Regions from separate parts of the Homo sapiens genome. Here regions 2, 3, 4 and 5 are each linked to region 1. The links are contacts of gene promoters, found by promoter capture Hi-C in blood cells and fetal thymus (Javierre and others, 2016). All regions are on one chromosome and are shown on one strand. The core of a region is centred on a gene start or on the middle of the fragment in contact, and the rest is flanking DNA. Distances in the headings are between cores, read along the strand shown.

Region 1 (4,165 bases), core at 1-2,500:
TCCCTGCAACCAGGCATAAAAAGTGCTAAAGACATAAATAGTTTCAAAGTTTGATTCTGTCACTTACTTGCTCCCTGATCTAGAACAAATTGTCAGCTCTAAGACTTAGCTTCCTCCATCTGTTTAAGAGCATCAAGACACCGACCTGGCAGGTCTGTAGATTCTGGACTCCATCCACTGGGCTGCAGGATCAGCGGGAACAAGAGCTGTGGTCTCTCTTGCTCAAGTATACGTCCCTAGAACCTAGCAGAGGACAGGCACGGAGAAGGCGTTCAGAATTTGCTGAATGGACACGTGAATGAAGAACGATCGAATGACTTAGGCGCTTAGTTAAGGAAACATCAGCTCCTGGCCCTTTATCCCTCCTATTTTTGCTGCCTCTGGCCTGTTAGAACGATTAACCCATGATCTGGGCCAAGGGCTTCAGAGCTGAACGTGGGGGTGGCCCGCGCGCCCCCGCTGAGATCTGGGCGCAGAGGCCTGCGGGCCCGAGGTACCCATCTCCGTTGGCCGCCACACTCCATCGTGGGGCGTCGTGCCGCTGACCACCCCTTTCCCCTTGCGTGGATCTCGGTCACAAGATGGCCGGAACAGGAAAGAAGGGGGCATGCTTTCCCGTTCCCTCCCTCCCCCATCCCGGGCAGGGCCCCCAGCCTTGCGCGGCGCCTCAAGTCCCAGGCGCATGGCACCGCCGGGCAGCCGAACCAGCAGACAAAAGCCGAGAGACGCGGGTTCCAGGGGAACCTCGGCGCCCTTCCTTGGAAGGCAAACAGGCAGTGGGGGCAGCGGCGGCTACTCCAGCTGGATCTGCAGAGGCTCGGCTCGCAGCCTGGAGAGGCAGGAGGGCCGGCTTCGCGGGTATCGGGATGCCCCGTCAGCCACCTCCTGTGGGCGCCTGGCGCATCCCCGGTCTCGGCTCACCCCAGCTGCGCGCTCCTGGGCGGGTGCCGGGCGCTGCAGGCGGGCGGGGGCGACACAGGGGACCCAGACCCCAGGGTCGCTGCTGACGCGGGCCGGGCCCGCGGAGGCCGAGGAGCAGCAAAGCGGAGAGAGGCAGGCCGGCTCCTTCTTGCAGGGCGCAGGATGAAACGTGTCTGGTCTGGGCAAGTTGTGGCGAGGCGGGTCGACTGGCGCCGCTCTAGGGCCTTCCAGACTCCGGACCACGGACGACTCAGGATACCCCACCCCCCTCCCGCCCCCTCCCCTCCGCGATCTCCCTCCGGCCTCTTCCCTCGGTGTCCCGGCTCCTCTGGCAACTGGGCGGGACCGCGAGCGTCTAGACCGCAGCGCTAAAATGCGCTCAGCCAATCCGGCAGCTGGCGCAGACACGTGGTTCGGGGGCGCGCTCCGTTGCTGGCCCTGGATGCTAACCCTAGGAAGGCTTTTCAAAGAGAAACCAGATTCGCTCCTACCCGGTTGTTGGTCTGGCCCTCAGCAAGCTAATTTCCCAGAGGAGCTTCAGGTGAATTATCTTCCAAAAAGAGATGCGTTTTAATCGCAGAAGTCTGCAGATGCGAAGGACCTTGAAAAGGCTATCTAATGTGGCCCTGCATTTGAGTGACGTGGAAAACCGAGATTAGGGACTTTTCACCAAAGCCCTCTAGGATTTAAACCCACGTAGGTTTCTGCGTCTCTTTCCGTTATGCCCACTTCAGGATGAAAGGCACGGATCTTTGTTGGTAGAAAGTTAGGCACTGAATTACAGGAGATGTGGGTCCGGAGTAGTGTGCTCATTTATGTAACCTAAAATTGGAACACGTGGGACAAAAGTCAGTATTTTTAAGTAACAAGTAATCCAGAACGTATGTATATACCATCATGAGAAATGAAGGCATCTTTTGCAAAACCTAAGTGTCTAATGCAGCTATATATATATATATATATAATATATATATATATGTTTTTAAATTAGAGAGGAGTAGCTGCAGAACTTTTACTGGACCAACATGCCGTTGTAAAAGTGCCTTTCCTTGTGCTTCTCCCTGACAGAATCAACTTTGTACCATACTTTAGCACAAGGCTTCAAACATAGCAACAGCTAAATATGTATTTATGTTGAATTCCTTGCTTTAGTTTTATTTGAAGCCATAAGGCCAAGATGACCATGATGGGATTTTAAATTGGTCTAATTTTAAAATTATTTTGAAAGAAAATTCAAGATCTCTATAAAAATCCTCTAAGTACTATGGGGAAAGATTTCTAGATAGAAATTTCAGACAATAGGCCGAGCGCAGTGGCTGACGCCTGTAATCCCAGCACTTTGGGAGTCCGAGGCGGGTGTATCACGAGGTCAGGAAATCGAGACCATCATGGCTAACACGGTGAAACGCCGTCTCTATTAAAAATACAAAAAATTAGCCGGGCATGGTGGTGGGCACCTGTAGTCCCAGCTACTCGGGAGGCTGAGGCAGGAGAATGGCGTGAACCTGGGAGGCGGAGCTTGCAGTGAGCCGAGATCGCGCCACTGCACTCCAGCCTGGGCGAGAGAGCGAGGCTCCGTTTCAAAAAAAAAAAAAAGAAAAAAGAAAAGAAAAGAAAAAGAAAGAAAGAAAAAAAAAGAAAGGAATTTCAGACAATATGAGATAGATAGGACCATTGCTCTGCAAAATCCGGTTTTTGCAAACTCGGTAGCTGTCTGTGTGTGTGTGTGAGAGAGAGAGAGAGATGATTGCTTAATTAATATTATTTGTTGACATACCATTTGAGTTACATGTATTTCCCATCCCCACTGTCAGTATATTACCCTACAGGTGTAGAATTGGAATAAGAAGAATCAATTGACTTTGGCATGACTTAGCAGCCATGATGCATTCTTGATCTATGCACAAACCACTTTTACCAATTGTATAATGGTATACATATTTTTAATGATTAAGGTATCTCTCTCGTCGGTCAGACTATAAGAACCTCAAGTATTCCAGCATTTTGAGCATTTAGTAAGTCCTCAAATAAATATTTGCTTTTTGAAGACAGAAATGATCCTAAAGAATGAAATAATAATACTGGTGAACATTAATCATTTTGTACAGTAAATAAACAAAAGCATTGTAGCTGAATTTATTTCAAATGATTGTTTCTGTTTCTCTCATTTGAAAATAGTTATTGATATTACCTGGCTAATGTCCTTTAGTATGAAGGCGATAAATAAAGAAGGGCAGAAATCACATGTGTTGTCTGATTCAATACATATTAATTATTTTGCCTCATATTCCCATTTCAGATACCTAACCTTGGTTTTATATACATGGTTTAAAGAATAATAGGCCAGGTGAGGTGGCTCAAACCTGTAATCCCAAAACTTTGGGAGGCCAAGGTGGGCAGATCACCTCAGGTCAACAGTTTGAGACCAGCCAGGGCAACATGGTGCAACCCCGTCTCTACTAAAAATACAAAAATTAGCCGGGCATGGTGGTGCACACCTGTAATTCCAGCTACTCAGGAGGCTGAGGCAGGAGAATCACTTGAACCTGGGAGGCAGAGACTGCAGTGAGCTGAGATCATACCACTGCACTCCAGCTTGGGCAACAGAGGGAGACTCTGTCTTGAAAAAGAAAAAAAAAAGAAAAAAAAAGGAAGCAAGTTTATTAAGAAAGTGAAGGAATAAAAAAAAAATGTACTCCATAGGCAGAACAGCCTGTACCACATTTTTTAAATCCAATCCACTGTTGACAGGCACTTTGATTGATTCCACGCCCTTGCTATAGTGAATAGTGCTGTGATGAACATATGGGTATATGTGTCTATTTGATAGAATGAATTATTTTCATTTGGGTATATACCAGGTAGTGGGATTGCTGGGTTGAATGGTAGCTCTGTTTTAAGTTATTTGAGAAATCTCCAAACTGCTTTCCACAGTGGCTGAACTAGTTTGTATTTCCACCAACAACGTATAAGCATTCCCTTTTCTCTGAAGCCTCGCCAACATCTGTTGTTTTTTGACTTTTTACTAATTGCCATTCTGACTGATGGAAAACGACATTAACAGACACTTCTCAAAGGAACACATACAAGCGGCCAACATACGTATGAAAAAATGCTCAACACCACGAATCATCAAAAAAATGCAAATCAAAACAATGAGAAACCATCTCATACCAGTCACTGTGAGATTTAACAGATTTTAGGGCTGGTTTATAGGGAGAAATGTATTTAGGGGCTTGCAGGG
Region 2 (3,928 bases), core at 247-2,746, 210 kb after region 1:
GTCTAAATACTACTTCTATAACATACTTATTAATGAGAAATATTAAAATGCTAACAAATATGAAATCACAAGTATAAATAAAACTATATAATTTAACGTCATTAAAAATAAGTGCACTATATTATTTAACAAACTTATTAATGGAAGATAAATGTTCCCATACTTTTATTGTTAACATCTGACTTGAGAAAACTGACTTAAAAAAAAGCCTCTGGATCTTGGAACACCTACATATCAAATAGTTCATGTATATGTCAACAGGTTGGTTGGTCAGAGATGTAAAGATGAAGAGAGGATACAAAAAACACAAAATAAGTTCTAAGCTGATAAATTAGATTCTATACAGGAGCTTCATGTTTGAGATATATCATTATTTAATTCAAGGATTAAAAATACAAAGTAGTGATTATGGTCTGAATATTTCATATTTGAGTATCTTATAGGCTTAGAAGTAGCTTATTCCCTGTTTAAAGCAGAAGCAGTTAATGAAATATACTGTGGGCTAAATTTAGTTCAAGAGCTCAAATACTGAGAGAGAAAATGAAAAAGGAATTGGAAAAGATGAATTAATAAATATAGAATTTGCGTTTTACCACTTGATTCTTACTTGAAACTAGTTTCTGGTTATATGTTTAATTTTTTTCTCTGACTTTGTAAGAACAATGTAGATTTAAAATACTTTTTTTTAAATGCAAGAAGCACCAATTTTATCTGTGAAATCTTGAAATTAGGGGTACAACAGCTGCCAGGAGTCATTGTTTTGGTTTCAAAATAAAATAAAATAAAACATTCAGATAAAATAAAAAGAATATTTTTTCTTCATTAAATATGTGTCCAAATATTCACTGAAACGGGCACTGTTCTAGGATCTAAGGGTACATTAGTGAACAAAAGAAATACAAATTATGACCTTCATGAGGCTTGTATTTTAGAGGAAGTAGGTAGAAATAAACTATTATCTACAGAAAAAAGTGCTATGAAGAAAAATTAAAAGGGAGAGGGAATTATAGTTTGTATAGTGCTGTCAGAAAATAATTATGTGTAAGTATGTATAATTTTAGCAAATATTTGAATGAAGAGAGGAGGTTTGACTTTTCTAAACTGGTAGGAACAAATCTAAAGTAGCTAGCGGCTTCTGTATCTGGCTGCTGATTTACACAGATGTTTGAGTTTGTAAAAATCCAAAGCTAAATTTCATGATTTGTGCACTTTTCTGAGTATATGTTATATTTCACTAAGAAGTTTTCAAAAGAAAAATTTTGAATGAAAGAAACACATCACAAAAAGAAGGAAAATACTACTTCAGATACAGTATTTCTTTTGGCCATGCAGTGGAACAAGACTTTCTAATCCAGACATAGCACTATTGTTCTGGTGAATAATATCTTTTCCTGCTAAGAGAATCTTTAGATTTTTCTATCTCAGTTTATTTGGGTTAAATACTCCCTTATTCAGTGTCTGACTACTAGGAAAGCATGTTAAAAAATTAGTAGAAAAATAGTATAACTTCTTATCTATATTTATAGGTTCTTTTTCTGTTTTTTTTTTTTTTTCCTACTGTCAAATGAGCATAGGAGGAGACACTGTTGGTGGTGGAGGGCAAATGGGCTGTTACATAAGGTTAAGCACCTGAGGTCTGAATGCCTGGGTTCAAATCTCAGCTGTGTTTCTAATTAGCTGTTTCATATCAGGCCTATGCTATAAAGGATGATTCTTGCTCAAAGAAAAGTATGGCCCTTCACCCTATCTCCCAGGAAATATCCCCTACCCTGGCCCTTCACCCTATCTCCCAGGAAATATCCTCTACCCTTGGAATTTCCTGACTAATAAGAATGTCTACGTTTACCTGCAGATCTCGGACCACACTAGATATTGTATGCTAATGATGTTATTTGTAGTGAGGACCTTGGGCCACAAAGCATCAGTTCAACATCTGAAGGGGTTAGAGGTTAAGGTTAGTCATGCAGGCCGTTAGCCAAGTCCACACAGCTGACCCTCAATAAAAACTCTGTACCACAAAGTTTGAATGAGCTTCCCTGGTTGGCAATACTCCACGAGTACCCTCACACACTGTTGCTGGAAGAAATAAGTGCTATCCACTGTAACGGGATTCTACTGGGAGAGGACAACTGTTAACTTTGTGTCTGGTCTCCCCGGACCCTACCCTAAGCATCTCTTCCTTTTGCTGATTTTATTTGTGTCCTTTTGCTATAAAAACTGTAACTGTGAGCACAGCTGTTTTTTGGAGTTATATAAATCCTTATAGTAAGTTATTGAATCTAAAAGTGGTCTCAGGTACCTCTCAACTGTGCAAGCTAGTTACGTAACTTTTGAATCTTGGTTTTCTTATCATGTGGGATTGTTATGAAAAACAATTGAATAACGTCAGTTAAACACTTGGCATCATGCCTAGAAATATTAAGGAATAAAAGCATGCTTGGCTAGTTTTACTTCTGTTTTCCCACTGCTTTTGGTCTAGAAAAAACAAACTCATTTGAAATGCTGTTGAATGAGACACCAAATTGCTGCGGAGACACTAAATTTCACGGAATTTGATTATGCTGTAGGGAGAATAGGAAGAAACAGAGTATACTTTGTAGCAGGAGTATAGGGCTGAGTAAAGGGTAATAGCTGTTGATCACCTGAAATCTTCTAAATATAAAATGCCTCAGATCATGGTGCCCAGCAATCAATACACTACACAGACGAAAGAGCTTTTTTGTTTCAGTACTGTAAAACTATTTTCTACGGTATAGGTATAGTCTTTGTATTTTCTTGATACTACTACTGTTTCTGCCTATCTTTGCAAAAATGACAGAATCCATTTCTTTTAATTGAAAATCTGTATATATTTTCCATTGCCAAATTGTATTTAATTACTCATTATCATGAAAAACTACTAGCCATTCTGATTTTGATTTTACTTAAAAATATACAGTCTTCTGTCCTCTCCTTTGAACATCTCTAAATAAAAATTGTACAGAATTTTTCTTAAGCTACATAAAAATACTAAATACCATTTTTTCAAAAAGCTTATTCTGAAAAGAGAAATATCATATAAACTTACAATGATACAAATAATTTACTATTCAAACATTAACCATTCTACAAAAAAAGCTATGTACTTACTTTAAATGTCGGTGAGAGATAATTTTTTAGCAACCAGAATTTCACTGGTGTTTTGGTGTTACGCAAAACAGAAAGCATCATAATTCTGTATAAAAGAATATTAAACCCAATATACATTAACAGTAACAGGAGCTCATATATATTTTTTAACCTTGAAGTGTTTTTTAAAATTTAATTTTAATTTCTTAAATTTTACTTTAAGTTCTGGGATACATGTGCAGAACATACAGGTTTGTTACATAGGTCTTTTAAAGGCTTTTAAATAATTGAAGGTATGAATTAGAAGGTTTTCACAATGAAATGTGAAGAAATAAACTAAAATATGGTTTATCAAGTATGTAATGTGTAAGGATGAATACATATACATCATGGTAGCTTCACCTGGGCCCAGCTGTCCATGACTGTGTGATTAATATTAAGTCTACAAACCCTGAAGAGCTGAATGATCTATCTATATTGACAAATTCACTGGATGGGTCATTTGGTTTGCTAACCTAAACCTCCAAATGGAAAGGATACAAATGAATCTGAAGTTCCATTTTAACGTATCAGTGCTACAATTCAAATATTTTTGAGTTATTCTCTGTGACCTTTCTATATAAACTGTTTAAAAATAGCCTTTTGTACTTTGCAATATGCATTTCTCCCCTCATTCCCTTCCTTTTTATAAAACAAGGTTTTCTTCACTGGAAAAGGATAATTTACTATAGTAAATTATATATATATAAATATTGTATATATAAAGTACTGTAAATATATATATTGTGAGTATATCTATATATATATATTCTTACCTATC
Region 3 (3,744 bases), core at 128-2,627, 150 kb after region 1:
GCCTGGGCAACAGTGAGACTCCATCTCAGAAAGAAAAAAAAAGGATAATTCTTTTAACAAATTACGTACATTTCACTGTGTCAAGTTTTCTTAGGATTTTAGATACCCTGTCACTTCATATATACCACCGGTTGCACTATTTTGTTTCCTGCAATGTTTGTGGCTTTGTTATCTCAAGTTACAGTGGAAAGACTTCATTCTATGGTTAATGTTTGTACAAACAAAATAGCATCTATTCCTCCTACTGAATGCATAAACATTAAGCAATTGTGGAATGAGGGGAGGGCTCTCCCTGTAGGACAGGGCCTCAGATGAGAGGAAATTCATTATGGACATTGAACAATGAAAAAAAGCAGCATTAGCAAATCTAGAGCTTTTGTCCAAAAAGTTGGTACTGCTGTTATGAATAAGGAATTAGGAAACAATGCAGGCATAAAAATATTCACCGAGCAGTTTAGGATTTATATGAATGGATGTTAGCCCTTCACTGCGCTTGAGGATCAAATCACAAAAGCTCTTCACATGGTTCATAAACTCACTTGCCTTGTCACCCAGGCTCCAACCTCATGGGCCTTCTTTCAGTCCTCAAACGAACAAAACTCCTTCCATACTATTCTTTCTTGCCTGGCTAGCACGAACTTTTACTTCAGGTTTCATCCTAAAATGTTACTTGTTAGGTCTGTCTTGACACTTGCCCTTCACAACATTTTCATTTGGGTATTAATGTCTGTCATTTATACTGTCTAGTAACCTTAAGAGGACAGCTTGGCACACAGTAGGTACCTAAATTATTTGTTAAATTGTTGAAATATTTGTTCAATCTGTTCAGGGCAGAGAGACCTACCATATTACTGGCCTTATTTAGATGAAACTTTTTAGAAATCGTTTTCTGGTGGAAGCAGACCGTGGGGAAACAAAGGAAAAGCTACCTACCAGCGTGAGGAAGACAAACACGGCAGAGGTCTGTGGCAGGACATTTGTATGGAAAGTAGTTTCAATCTGATGCTCTAGACTAGACACTCTACTACAGGATTAGTTCTATTTATTTCAACATTCATCTTACCCAGTAAAGGTAGTACCATAATTATTCCTCCTCTCCTTTTCCTGAAAATTTTAAATTAAACATATTCAAATAATGGTTTGAAGCCCATCTTTAAAATCTGAATAATTTTTCTTCAATTCTAATAAAAACCTTTCCTTTTTAAAGTAAAATCACATCAGGTAGGATACAAACTTTACATAGTTGAGCAGATCCACATGATTGAAGTAAACTTCTTCACTTCAAGTAATTATTAACTGTAGAGGAGAAGATTATTTTCCAAATCAGAGATCTTTACAACAGAGGTGTTACTAGTTCTAAGTCAAGAGGCTTTACCTGAGAATTTCTCAGAAAATAGAAGTTTGTATTTGGTAAATGGGGTTAACAAATAGAAAATGGGGAACAGCTGTCACATTACGATAACACTTGAAGACTTTAAAAAAGAGAGGTTCTAGAATGGGCTTACACACCTGACCGAGCCCCTCTAACTTACAAAGTTACCTGTAATTTTGGCCATCAAAGCCCTGGACCATCATGTTTCCTCTTCCTCACTCTGCCACCAAAGGTGAGATTTTAACCAATCAACTGGTTCTTTAGAAGTGAGTGGAGCCCCTTCAGTCTATGAAGTAACAGAAGTGAGTGAGACAATGGCTGGGTCATAACTTCTGCTTGTTGGTTTGAGCATGGGCCCATCAGCACCTTTTACTTCATCTCTGTAACTATGGATCTGAGACACATGATCCACGTGTTCATCTGACTTGTCCCGTACCTCCTGCCCATGAAAGTATTCTGTTGGGTCCCTGGAGCCTCTTCTGGGCAGTGGCAATTTGTTGTCTGGTTGCTTTTCAGGTGCTGGAGTCAGGACCTGGCACACAGCAACAAGCAGTTCTGTGGGCAGGTCCCACTTGTGTCAGACTACATGTTTAATATTAAAAGCCTGATTTTATAACCCCAGGCTGACATGGCTTTAGGTGCCTTTAGAAGTATTTGATGCTATCCTTCTAGGAGCTATGTTGTTCTCTAGGAGCTTGAGGGTAACTGGAGCCAAATGACAGGCATTTCCCAAATACAATCTTTTGGACCTAAGTGTTGGAGGTGGTATGCTGACTTTGGATTGTCTTAATGCTCAGATTCTGGGTCTACTTTCTACATAAAGCTCACACATCACTGTGGGTCAAACACAAATGCTTCTCATTCTTAGTTTAGATACACTGTTCTGACACTTTTTCTAAGAAGGCAGAAAGAGAAGACATTTATCACTTCCCATAGTTAGAAACTAGTTCCCCCACATTCCGCTGACCTCCACTACTTCTAGGATTTGATTTTTGTTAAAACTTGACATAGGGCCTGCAGCCGAGAACCAGAATTTAGGATCCTGAATATACCATGAAAGCCGTTGGACTATATTTGTTCAGCATCTCCAGGACAAGGAACTGAATGGCTTTCTCTCCAAGTGTTAGCAAATAAGACCTATGGTTCAGTTATGTAATGTGTCCCTGAGGAGGGTACATTTTTGTATGGCACAGCAGTTTGTATGCATGAGAGCTCTTGACATAACAGCATTTTTAAAACAAGCCATTTAATTAAAACATCTCACTGTAAAGAAATACCTTATTTATAAATCTGGATTTTCTGGTATAAGGTGTCACTCACCTGGAAATGTAACATGTAAACTGGCCACTCAGATCACAAGATGCAAACAGGGAGGGGGGCCATCAAGACTGTGTTTACATTGTTCTGTAATTTTAGCTTAATACTCCATGAAAATATGGGACCTAGAATACTGGAGAAGGCCATTGTAGGTAATAAAAGTAGGAATCCGGTGTCTCTGCCCAGCTGATCATCCTTTCTATAAGATTCTCACAGAAGTGAAGACAGGCTGGTAACAAAGGAAAACAAAGTACCATCTTATAGTTGAGGTTTGTGCCCCAGCCACCGCAGCAGACCTCTGGGTAGCTGGGTGGAGCATCTGGCCTGACCTAGAACCTTACAGAGTCTCACCTCTTACCAATCCCCAGCTTCAGCTGACTCCCAAGAGTGAGCCGGAGAGCACCATGACGCTGGCCGCCCCAGGACCATTTACTGCTCCAGCCTCTGAGTGTACCCTATAGGATACTCTGAACTCACAGGAATAACCTAGTTCCACCAGAGCAGGCCATAAATGGTGCACTCCATTTTAATACAGACAAACACGAACAAGTAACAAAGGGAGGATGACTGCAAGAGGGAGAGGCAGGCGCTCTCTTATTAGGAATGAATGGAGCTGATGGGAGGAGTAGTATTTTAACTCTATGGGCTGTTCTGTCAAACACAGAAGGATTAGCCTTGTTCTGAAAAGCTCACAGGAGTGAGCTTCGGCTCATGATGGAACTGTGTGTACAGAGCTGTCCAAAGATGGACCAGCCTGTCTCTAGAGGTGGAGAGTTCCCTGTTGTCCTGGAATTTCCAAGATGGCCTGAGGCTCAGCTTTACAGGCAGGGCCTTAGAAGAGGGGCCGGCACACTGGCTGGGGCCCAATTCTATTAAATGCTTCTCAAACTTGTCTAATTACAGAACCATCTGGAGAGCTTTTTAAACAATCATGATTTACCAAGCTTACTTTAGACCTAATGAATCAGACTCTCCACAGGATGAGGTCCAAATGGCACTGAGTTCTCTTCCAGTCCCATGATCCTATGATTTTAGAATAGTTGGATAGTTTTTAA
Region 4 (4,274 bases), core at 841-3,340, 190 kb after region 1:
AATACTAAATTTTTCTAGTAGCCATGTATAAAAATGTAAGAGGAATAGGTGAAATAAATTTTAATACTATATTTTATTCAACCCAATATATCCAAAATACTAAGTCAACATGTAATCAATACAAAAATTAGTAATGAGATATATGTTATTTTCATTGTATTGAGTATTCAAAATCTGGTGTGTACTTTATACCTTACAGCACATCTCAATTCAGAATAGCAACATGTTAAGGGCTCAACAGCCACATAAGGCAAGTGGCTACTGCACTGGAAGAAGCAGTTACAGGTGGACAAAAAGTACTCCCTGAGACATGGCACACAGGAGGGCTACTCAATGACGGAGATATCCACTTAGGTCTGCTGCTGGAATGAGTATGAAGCCACTGAATTTTGGGGGTTTGTTATGGTAGCTCATGTTAGTCTAAGTACTAAAGATCCCAAAATGACCTACACCACTACTGTATGAGCCACAACAGAACCCTAACAACATATTAGTAGTTGTGTTCAATAATGTTCTTGGCCTCTCTTTATGAAATTCCCTTGCTTACCTCTTAAAAATGCCTTTTTATTTGTTTCTGCTATATTCTACCAACTATGATTACATTCTAACATGCTGGCATGCTATTTTTAAAATATGTATTTCTATACATGTCTGAAAAAGTTCCTATATTTTGTTTTCCTGCTCTTTTTTGTTCAAAATTGTGTGAATTCTAACATTTTAATAGCTTATTCGTCAGTGAAGATCTTGTAAACAATTTTCTACACTTAGCACATTAAAAACAATATACTAGGAAAAAAACTTATTATACCTACTAAAGACAAGGTAGTAGTGGAATATAAAATCTAAATGGACAACAAATAAATTACTTTGAAATATTTTATGTTTAGGAGAGTTAAACTGCACAGCATAAACTGCTTTAAATGAAAATCTAGGAAAAATAATCTCTTAAAAATAAGTAAGAAAAAAGCATGTATGATATATTTTAAGTAGACAAAATTGTCTTGTTTGCCTTTATTTGGGGGAAAATATTGGCAGGATAACTAAACTGAAGACATGTCAAGATGATAGCTAATCCACAAACATTTTCAGCTAGCTCTCAGCCCTTTTTTTTTGTTTGTTTGTTTTTTTGAAATGGAGTTTTGCTCTTGTCTCCAGGCTGGAGTGTAGTGGCGCCATCTCCGCTCTCTGCAACCTCTGCCTCCCAGGTTCAAGCAATTCTCCTGCCTCAGCCTCCTGAGTAGCTGGGACTACAGGCATGTGCCACCACGCCCAGCTAATTTTTTGTAATTTTAGTAGAGATGGGGTTTCATCATGTTAGCAACGCTGGTCTCGAAGTCCTGACCTGAGGTGATCCACCTGCCTCGGCCTCTTAAAGTGCAGGGATTACAGGCGTAAGCCACCGTGCCCAGCCCTCTAAGCCTTTTTTTCAAAAGTCCTTTTGCAGAAAAGAGTTAATACAGAAAGCCTGAAATTGCTATTCTTAGAAAGACCTGCTTGTAAGTTTGGCTCCTCGCTGGCATCTGGGAACACAGGGTTCAGGATGGTTCTCACCATTCCTTTATAAGAGTAACTCACTGTGTCTAAATTATCTGTGCAAAGGTGTTTATGCTAAACACTTGCTTTCCTCCTGAGTGCTGGAAATTTAGGTGTGTCTCAGGCAGACAGTGCTATATGGTCACCAGCCCCCAGTAAAACCCCTGGACACTGGGGTTTCTAATAAATGTCCTTAGTAGGTAATACTTCACACTGGTTGTGGAATCTCTTATTGCTTGAGGAATGAAGCTTGTCCCGTGTGATATCACAGAGAAAGGACTCTTGGAATCTTGCACCTGATTTTCTCTTTGCCCCATGTGCCTTTTCCCTTTGCTGACTTTGCTTTATATCCTTTCACTGTGATAAATCAAGCCATGAATATGATTATATTTTGCATCTCATGAATCTCCTTAGTGAATCATCAAACCTCAGGGTGGTCTTGGGGGCCCCCAAAATAACCCTATACTTGCCAACCTAAGTAAATGTGTAATAGACTGAACAGCAGAAGAAGCGAAGTAATACGTATGCCACTCCCTTTGTAAAACAGAAAGAAAATATTTCTATTTAAACATTTCTGTATCTGCTTACATACAAATGAAAACAAAGACACTCACCAGATCAATTGTTTTGGCTCTTTGTTTGGATTCATCATCACACCAGGTTTCACACCACAGCCAGTCTTGAGGAAGAGACTTAATGGCGACTTGGTAAATCATATTATTGGGGAGATCCTACAGAAAATTGTGATTTAATCATAGACGTATGAAATTTAGAGTCAGAAGGAAAGAAGCTGAATGAAGTAAGACATCAGTTAGACTGTAAACAGATCATAAAACATATGCAAATCTGAGATTTCTCTACACTTTAAAGCTTAAAATACCTAAGGTGATCCAATCATCTTGTGTCATGAATGAATCCATGCACTGGAATATACCTACATCTCTCCTAGACTCTACCCCTGGGAACAAGGATGAAGAAGGAGGCATAGAAACCTACCATTCAATAGTCCCCACAATGGACAGCCTCACTACCTCTATCTGCCTCTATTGCTCACATTATGCCTGCAATTACTGTTCATATTGGTCACCACAATGCTCTCTGGATTCTGAGGTGAATTTTCATCTCCCCATTGGAAACAATGATCCATGAATATTTTCCCATTTCTGCATGCTCAGAGCTCTCTAAGTAAAGATTGCTGGCATCTGGGTTAATGGATGTTTGACTGGCAAACTAGCCTAGTAAGTTAGAGACCTTTGGAGAGAATCAGACAAATCTTCCCCAGAGATATTTGTTTATATTCCAGGGGTGGAGTCCTTCCCTTCCTTTCCCTATAGAAGATCTGCTTATATTCAAGAGCAAAGGCATGTTCCTCTCTCTCCAAGAGTATGAAGGGTACTTGTGCTGGTTGTCCTACATAAGCTCCAAGATTCACAATTTTAAGGTTCTTCTCTCAACATCCCTATTAAACATCACACTGAAAGTCCTAGCAAATGCAATAAGACAAGAAAAGGAAAATGTATATAGATTGGGAAGGGAAAAAAACCTGTCACTGTTTGTGATAACAGGATTGTTTATGCAGAAAATCCCAAGAATCAAGGGAAAAAACTTCTGGAACTGATAAGCAATTTTAGCAATGTTACAAGATAAAAAGTTAATATACAAAAGTCAACTGCTTTTCTATATACCAGCAATGAACAAACATAATTTGAAATTTAAGAAAACACACCATTTACATTAGCACCGAAAAAGAGAAATACTTAAACATAAATCTAATAAAATATGTTCCTCAACAAAATGAAAACTACAAAATTCTGAGGAAAGAAATCAAAGAACACTGAAATACATGAAGAGATATTCTATGTTCACACATAGGAAGACTCCATAGTCAAGATAACAGTTCTTCCCAGATTTATCTATAGACTTAACACAATCCCAATCAAAGGCTTAGCAAGTTATTTTGTGGAGATTGGCCAACTGATTCTAAAGTTTAGGGAAAAAGGAAAAGATCCAGAATATCCAACACAATATTGAAGAATAAAGTCAGAGGGCTGACACTACCACACTTGAAGTCTTACTATAAAGTTACAGTAATCAAAACAGTGTGGTATTGGAAAAATAAGAGACAAATACATCAATGGAACACAATAAAGAGCCCAGAAATAGAAAATTACCCATACTTTCTGCTCATTTTTTTTGTAAACCTAAGACTGCTCTAAAAAAATAAAGTCCGTTAATCAAAGAAAGAAAAACCTTAACTGTCCCTTCTGACACCCTTAGTTCCTTGGAATCCCTTCCTTAAATAACCTGGCCTACCATATTATCTAAGCTACTAACTCAAATGGTTATATACTAGACCAAGTCTTCTATACTTTCAATTTCATGGTGCCACTCTCTGACCACCTCTTGATTTTTGGCTCACTCCACTGAGTACTCAGATATCAATATCCTTTGACCCCTTGGAACCTCCAATCAACTGATTTTACCACTATTTCACTGTCCCTCATTCCTTGATGTATTCACCCCTATATAGTTATTCTTCTGAATATACTCTCAACTGTCTTATTCTTCTCTCACTTAGTTGTACTTTCTTGACAAAGTCATAGTCCTGATTAAATCTCAATCTCTGTAACTGTTCTCATGGAACTCAACATGGCTGAGTTCCATGAGTACAGGACACACACACACACTACCCCCCATGCCGACTGTTTTTTCATTTTAACCTCCTGAATATAAATCTTAGG
Region 5 (4,055 bases), core at 591-3,090, 170 kb after region 1:
ACAACTTTGGAATTGGGTAATAGCAGAGGCTGGAAGAGTTTGGAGGGCTCAAAAGAAAACAGGAAGATAAAGGAAAGTTTGGAACATCTCAGAGATTGGTTAATGGTCGTGACCAAAATGCTGATAGTGATATGGACAGTGAAGTGAGCTCTCAGATGGAAATGAGGAACTGGCTGGGAACTGGAGCAAAGTCATACATGTTATGCTTTAACAAAGAACTTGGCTGCATTCTGTTTGTGCCCTAGGGATCTGTGGAAGTTTGACTTCAAAGCGATGATTTAGGGTATCTGGTAGAAGAAATTTCTAAGCAGTAAAGTATTTAATATGTGTCCTGGCTGTTTCTAGCAAGCTATGCTCAGATGTGGGAGTAAAGAAATGATTTAAAGTTGGAACTTTTAAAAGGGAAGCAGGGTGTAAAAGTGGAAAATTTGCAGCCTGGCCATGTAGAAAATAAAAGCTTGTTTTCAAAGGAAGAATCCAAGCAAGCTGTGGAGCAACCACTTGCTAGAGATATTCGCATAACCAAAAGTGAGCCAAGAGCTAACATCCAAGACAATGAGAAAAAGTCCTCAAAAGCATTTCAGAGACCTTTGCAGCAGCCCTTCCCATTACAGGCCCAGAGACCTAGAAGGGAAGAATGGTTTCATGGTCCAGGCCCAGGGTCCTGCTGCCCTGCACAGCCTCAAGACACTGTTTTCCTCATTCTGACCACTCTGGCTCCAGCATCGGCTAAAGGAGCCCCAGATATAGCTCAGACTGCTACTTCAGAGGGTGCAAGCCATTAGCCTCAGTGGCTGGCATGTGGTGTTAAGCCTGTAGGCATGCAGAGTGCAAGAGTGAATGAGGCTTGGCAGCCATCGTCTAGATTTCAGAGAATGTATTAAAAAAAGTCTGGGTATCTAGGCAGAAGCCTGCTGCAAGGGTAGAGTCTTAGAGAGAACCTCTACTAGGGAAGTATGGAGTGAAAAAGTGGGATTGTACCCCCCACAGAGAGTCCCCACTGGGGTACTGCCTAGCAGAGCTATGAGAAGAGGGCCACTGTCCTCCAGAGCCCAAAACAGTAGATCCACTGGCAGCTTGCACCTTCAGTGTGGAAAAGCTGTAGGCACTCAACTCTAGCCTGTGAGAGTAGCCTCGGGGGTTGAACACGGCAAGGCCACAGGGGTGGAACTGCTCAAGGCTTTGGGAGCCCACCCTTCATATCAGTGTACTTGGATGTGGGACATGGAGTCAAAGGAGATTATTTCGGAGCTTTATGATTTAATGACTGCCCTGCTGGGTTTTGGACCTGTGTGGGCCTGTAGCCCCTTTCTTTTGGCCAATTTTTTCCTTTTGGAAGAGGAATGTTTATCCAATGCTTACATCTCCTTTGTATCTTGGAAATAACTAACTTGTTTTTTATTTTACAGGCTCATAGGCGAAGGGATTTGCCTCAGATCTCATGTCCTTCTCACATTATAAAATACAATCATGCCTTCCCAATAGTCTCCTAAAGTCTTAACTCATTCCAGCATTAACTCAAAACTCCAAAGTCCAAAGTCTCATCTGAGGCAATCTCCTTTGACTTCAACTCATTCTATTAGACAAGCATTACTTTGACATTAACACCAGATAAAGGCATTAAGAAAATTATAGAACAATATTCTCCATGAACACAGATGCAAAAATCTTTAAGAAAATTTCAGGAAATTAAAACCAGCAATATATAAAAAGGATCCTCCATCATAGCCAAGTAGACTTTATCTCAGAAATACAAGGTTGATTAAACACTGTAATGTCAATCAGTATAATTTATATATTAACTACAAGAGAAAAGCCATATGATCATCTCAACAGATATTGAAAAAGCATTTGACATACTCAAGTATCAATTTATGATTAAAACTCCCAGTAAACTAGGAATAAAAGGAAACTTTTACAGCCTGATAAAGGACATCTATGAAGACCCAAAGCTAACATCATCCATAATGGTCTAAAACTAAATGCCTTCTCACTAAGATGAAAAACAGGCATGGAAGGGTATCTGTTCTCAACCCAGAGGCCCTTGCCAGTCCAGCACAACAAGAAAAATAAATAAAACACATTACTATGAAGACTGGAAAGGAAAAAGTAAAACTATTTTTATTTGCTGAAGATATGATCCACTGTGAAGACAATCCTGTGAACTCTACAACTATAACAGGACCCATTATGAAAAAATTCCTAAGAACTCTACTAGAACTAATAAGTGAGTATAGCAAAGCCACAGGACATAAGTCCAATATACAAAAATTAATTGTATTTCTATGTATTAGCAACCAACAAGAAATTTAAAAATACCATTTATATTAGCATTCAGTTATAAAATTCTTAGTAAAATATGTACACTGCAAACTAAAACTCTGCTAGGAGTAATTAAAGACCAAAATAAATCAAGAAACATATCGTATTTATGAATTGGAAGCTCAACATAATCAACACATTAATCTTCACCAAACTGATTTAAAACAAGAGTTGCAATCAAAATCTCAGTGGGCTTTTTTGTTTTCCAAAGAAATTCAAAATCCAAAACTTAAAAAAGAGCAAAAATCTTGAATAGGCACTTTGCAAAAAAACTTATAATATACAGATGGCCAATAAGCACAACGATATGGTTTGGATCTGTGTCCTCACCAAATCTCATCCCCAGTGTTGGAGGTGGGAGGGTATAATTCCCTGGTAGGAGGTAACTGGACCACGGGGGCAGAGTCCTCATGAATGGGTTAGCAGCATTCCCTCGGTGCTCTTCTTGTGATAGTGAGTGAGTTAGTGTGAGATCTGGTTGTTTAAAAGTGTGTGGCACCTTCCCCTTCTCTCTCGTGGTCCTGTTCCTCCAATGTAAGACACCTGCTCCTGCTTTGCCTTCCACCATGAATAAAAGCTCCTTGAGGCTTCCCCAGAAGCAGATGCTGCCATGCTTCTTGTAGAGCCTGTGGAACCACATGAGCCAATTAAACCTCTTTTCTTTATAAATTACCCAGTCTCAGGTATTTCTTAATGGCAGTGTAAGAACGAACTAATATTATAATTAGTCTGTAGGGAAATGTAAACTGAAACTACAACAATATATCACTATGCATCCATTAAATTAAGAGAGTGATATCAAATGTTAGTGAGGAAGTACAGCAATTGGAACTCTCATATGTTGTTAGTTAGAATGTTACAACCACTTTGGAAAACAGCTTCTCAGCCTCTTAGGTTAAATACAAGCTTTCCATATGACCCAACACCCCCATACTACTAGGTATTTACAGAAGAGAAATGAAAACATATGGTCCAGACTAAGACTAATAATAGCCCCAAACTGGAAATAACCCAAAGGTTCATCAAATAGAAAGGATAAGCATAGAATAGTATATCTATACAATGGAATAGCATTCAAGAATAAAAAGGAATAATCTACTGATATATTCAACAACATGATAAGTCTTTGGTTTCAATTTTGTGAATTCAAACAAAAGAATATATACTTATTCAATGTATGGCACTGGAGGAAAGGCACAACTGTTACAACAGAAAGCAGCTTAGTGATTGTAAGAGTTGGGTGTGGAAAGGAAGGTTCTGCCACAAAGGTGAATTGCAGAGCTGCATGAGGTAAGGAAAATGTTCTACATCTTGATTGTGATGGTGGTTACATGACTGTATATATTAGTAAAAAGTCACTAAACTGGGCTGGGCACAGTGGCTCATGCCTGTAATCCCAGCACTTTGGGAGGCCGAGGCAGGTGGATCACTTGAGGTCAGGAGTTCAAGACCAGCCTGGCCAACATGGCGAAACCCCCTCTCTACTAAAAATACAAAAATTATCCAGGCATGTTGGCACATGCTTGTAATCCTAGCTACTTTGAGAAGCTGAGACACAAGAATCGCTTGAACCCGGGAGGTGGAGGTTGCAGTGAGCTGAGATCACACCATTGCATTCCAGCCTGGATAGCAAAGCAAGACTTTGTCTCAAAAAAAAGTCACTAAACTGTAAGCTTAAAATTGGTGAATCTTATACCTCAGTAAAGATTAATAAAAACAAAAAATCAAAGTGT

What was found. The method cuts DNA at HindIII sites, captures the fragments that hold promoters and counts their contacts. A CHiCAGO score of 5 or more calls a contact.
Region 2: a fragment that was not itself captured here is called in contact with the fragment with the promoter of DZIP1 in region 1 in 1 of 17 cell types (neutrophils); the score reaches 7.0 in neutrophils.
Region 3: a contact is called between a fragment that was not itself captured here and the fragment with the promoter of DZIP1 in region 1, in 1 of 17 cell types (neutrophils). The highest score is 12.5, in neutrophils.
Region 4: a contact is called between a fragment that was not itself captured here and the fragment with the promoter of DZIP1 in region 1, in 3 of 17 cell types (neutrophils, M2 macrophages and M1 macrophages). The highest score is 11.9, in neutrophils.
Region 5: a contact is called between a fragment that was not itself captured here and the fragment with the promoter of DZIP1 in region 1, in 11 of 17 cell types (neutrophils, activated CD4 T cells, naive B cells and 8 more). The highest score is 16.4, in neutrophils.

The regions. Positions count from the first base shown.
Region 1 is chr13:95,643,456-95,647,620 of GRCh38, forward strand. It overlaps DZIP1 (DAZ interacting zinc finger protein 1), which reads right to left and starts at 1,251. Exons shown (of 23, transcript NM_198968.4): 1 at 922-1,251; 2 at 146-243. RefSeq lists silencers at 864-973, 1,034-1,123, 1,214-1,323 and an enhancer at 1,414-1,463. The HindIII fragment of the contact is 11,159 bases long and covers 1-4,165 here.
Region 2 is chr13:95,856,462-95,860,389 of GRCh38, forward strand. It overlaps UGGT2 (UDP-glucose glycoprotein glucosyltransferase 2), which reads right to left. Exons shown (of 39, transcript NM_020121.4): 33 at 3,130-3,214. Among named protein-coding and RNA genes, the nearest start is that of DNAJC3, 180 kb to the left of the region's middle. The HindIII fragment of the contact is 3,067 bases long and covers 1-3,030 here.
Region 3 is chr13:95,797,022-95,800,765 of GRCh38, forward strand. No RefSeq gene overlaps it. Among named protein-coding and RNA genes, the nearest start is that of DNAJC3, 120 kb to the left of the region's middle. The HindIII fragment of the contact is 4,508 bases long and covers 1-3,631 here.
Region 4 is chr13:95,834,939-95,839,212 of GRCh38, forward strand. UGGT2 (UDP-glucose glycoprotein glucosyltransferase 2) reads right to left here. Exons shown (of 39, transcript NM_020121.4): 37 at 2,148-2,264. Among named protein-coding and RNA genes, the nearest start is that of DNAJC3, 160 kb to the left of the region's middle. The HindIII fragment of the contact is 621 bases long and covers 1,781-2,401 here.
Region 5 is chr13:95,813,157-95,817,211 of GRCh38, forward strand. All of the region lies in intron 38 of UGGT2 (UDP-glucose glycoprotein glucosyltransferase 2), which reads right to left. Among named protein-coding and RNA genes, the nearest start is that of DNAJC3, 140 kb to the left of the region's middle. The HindIII fragment of the contact is 2,771 bases long and covers 456-3,226 here.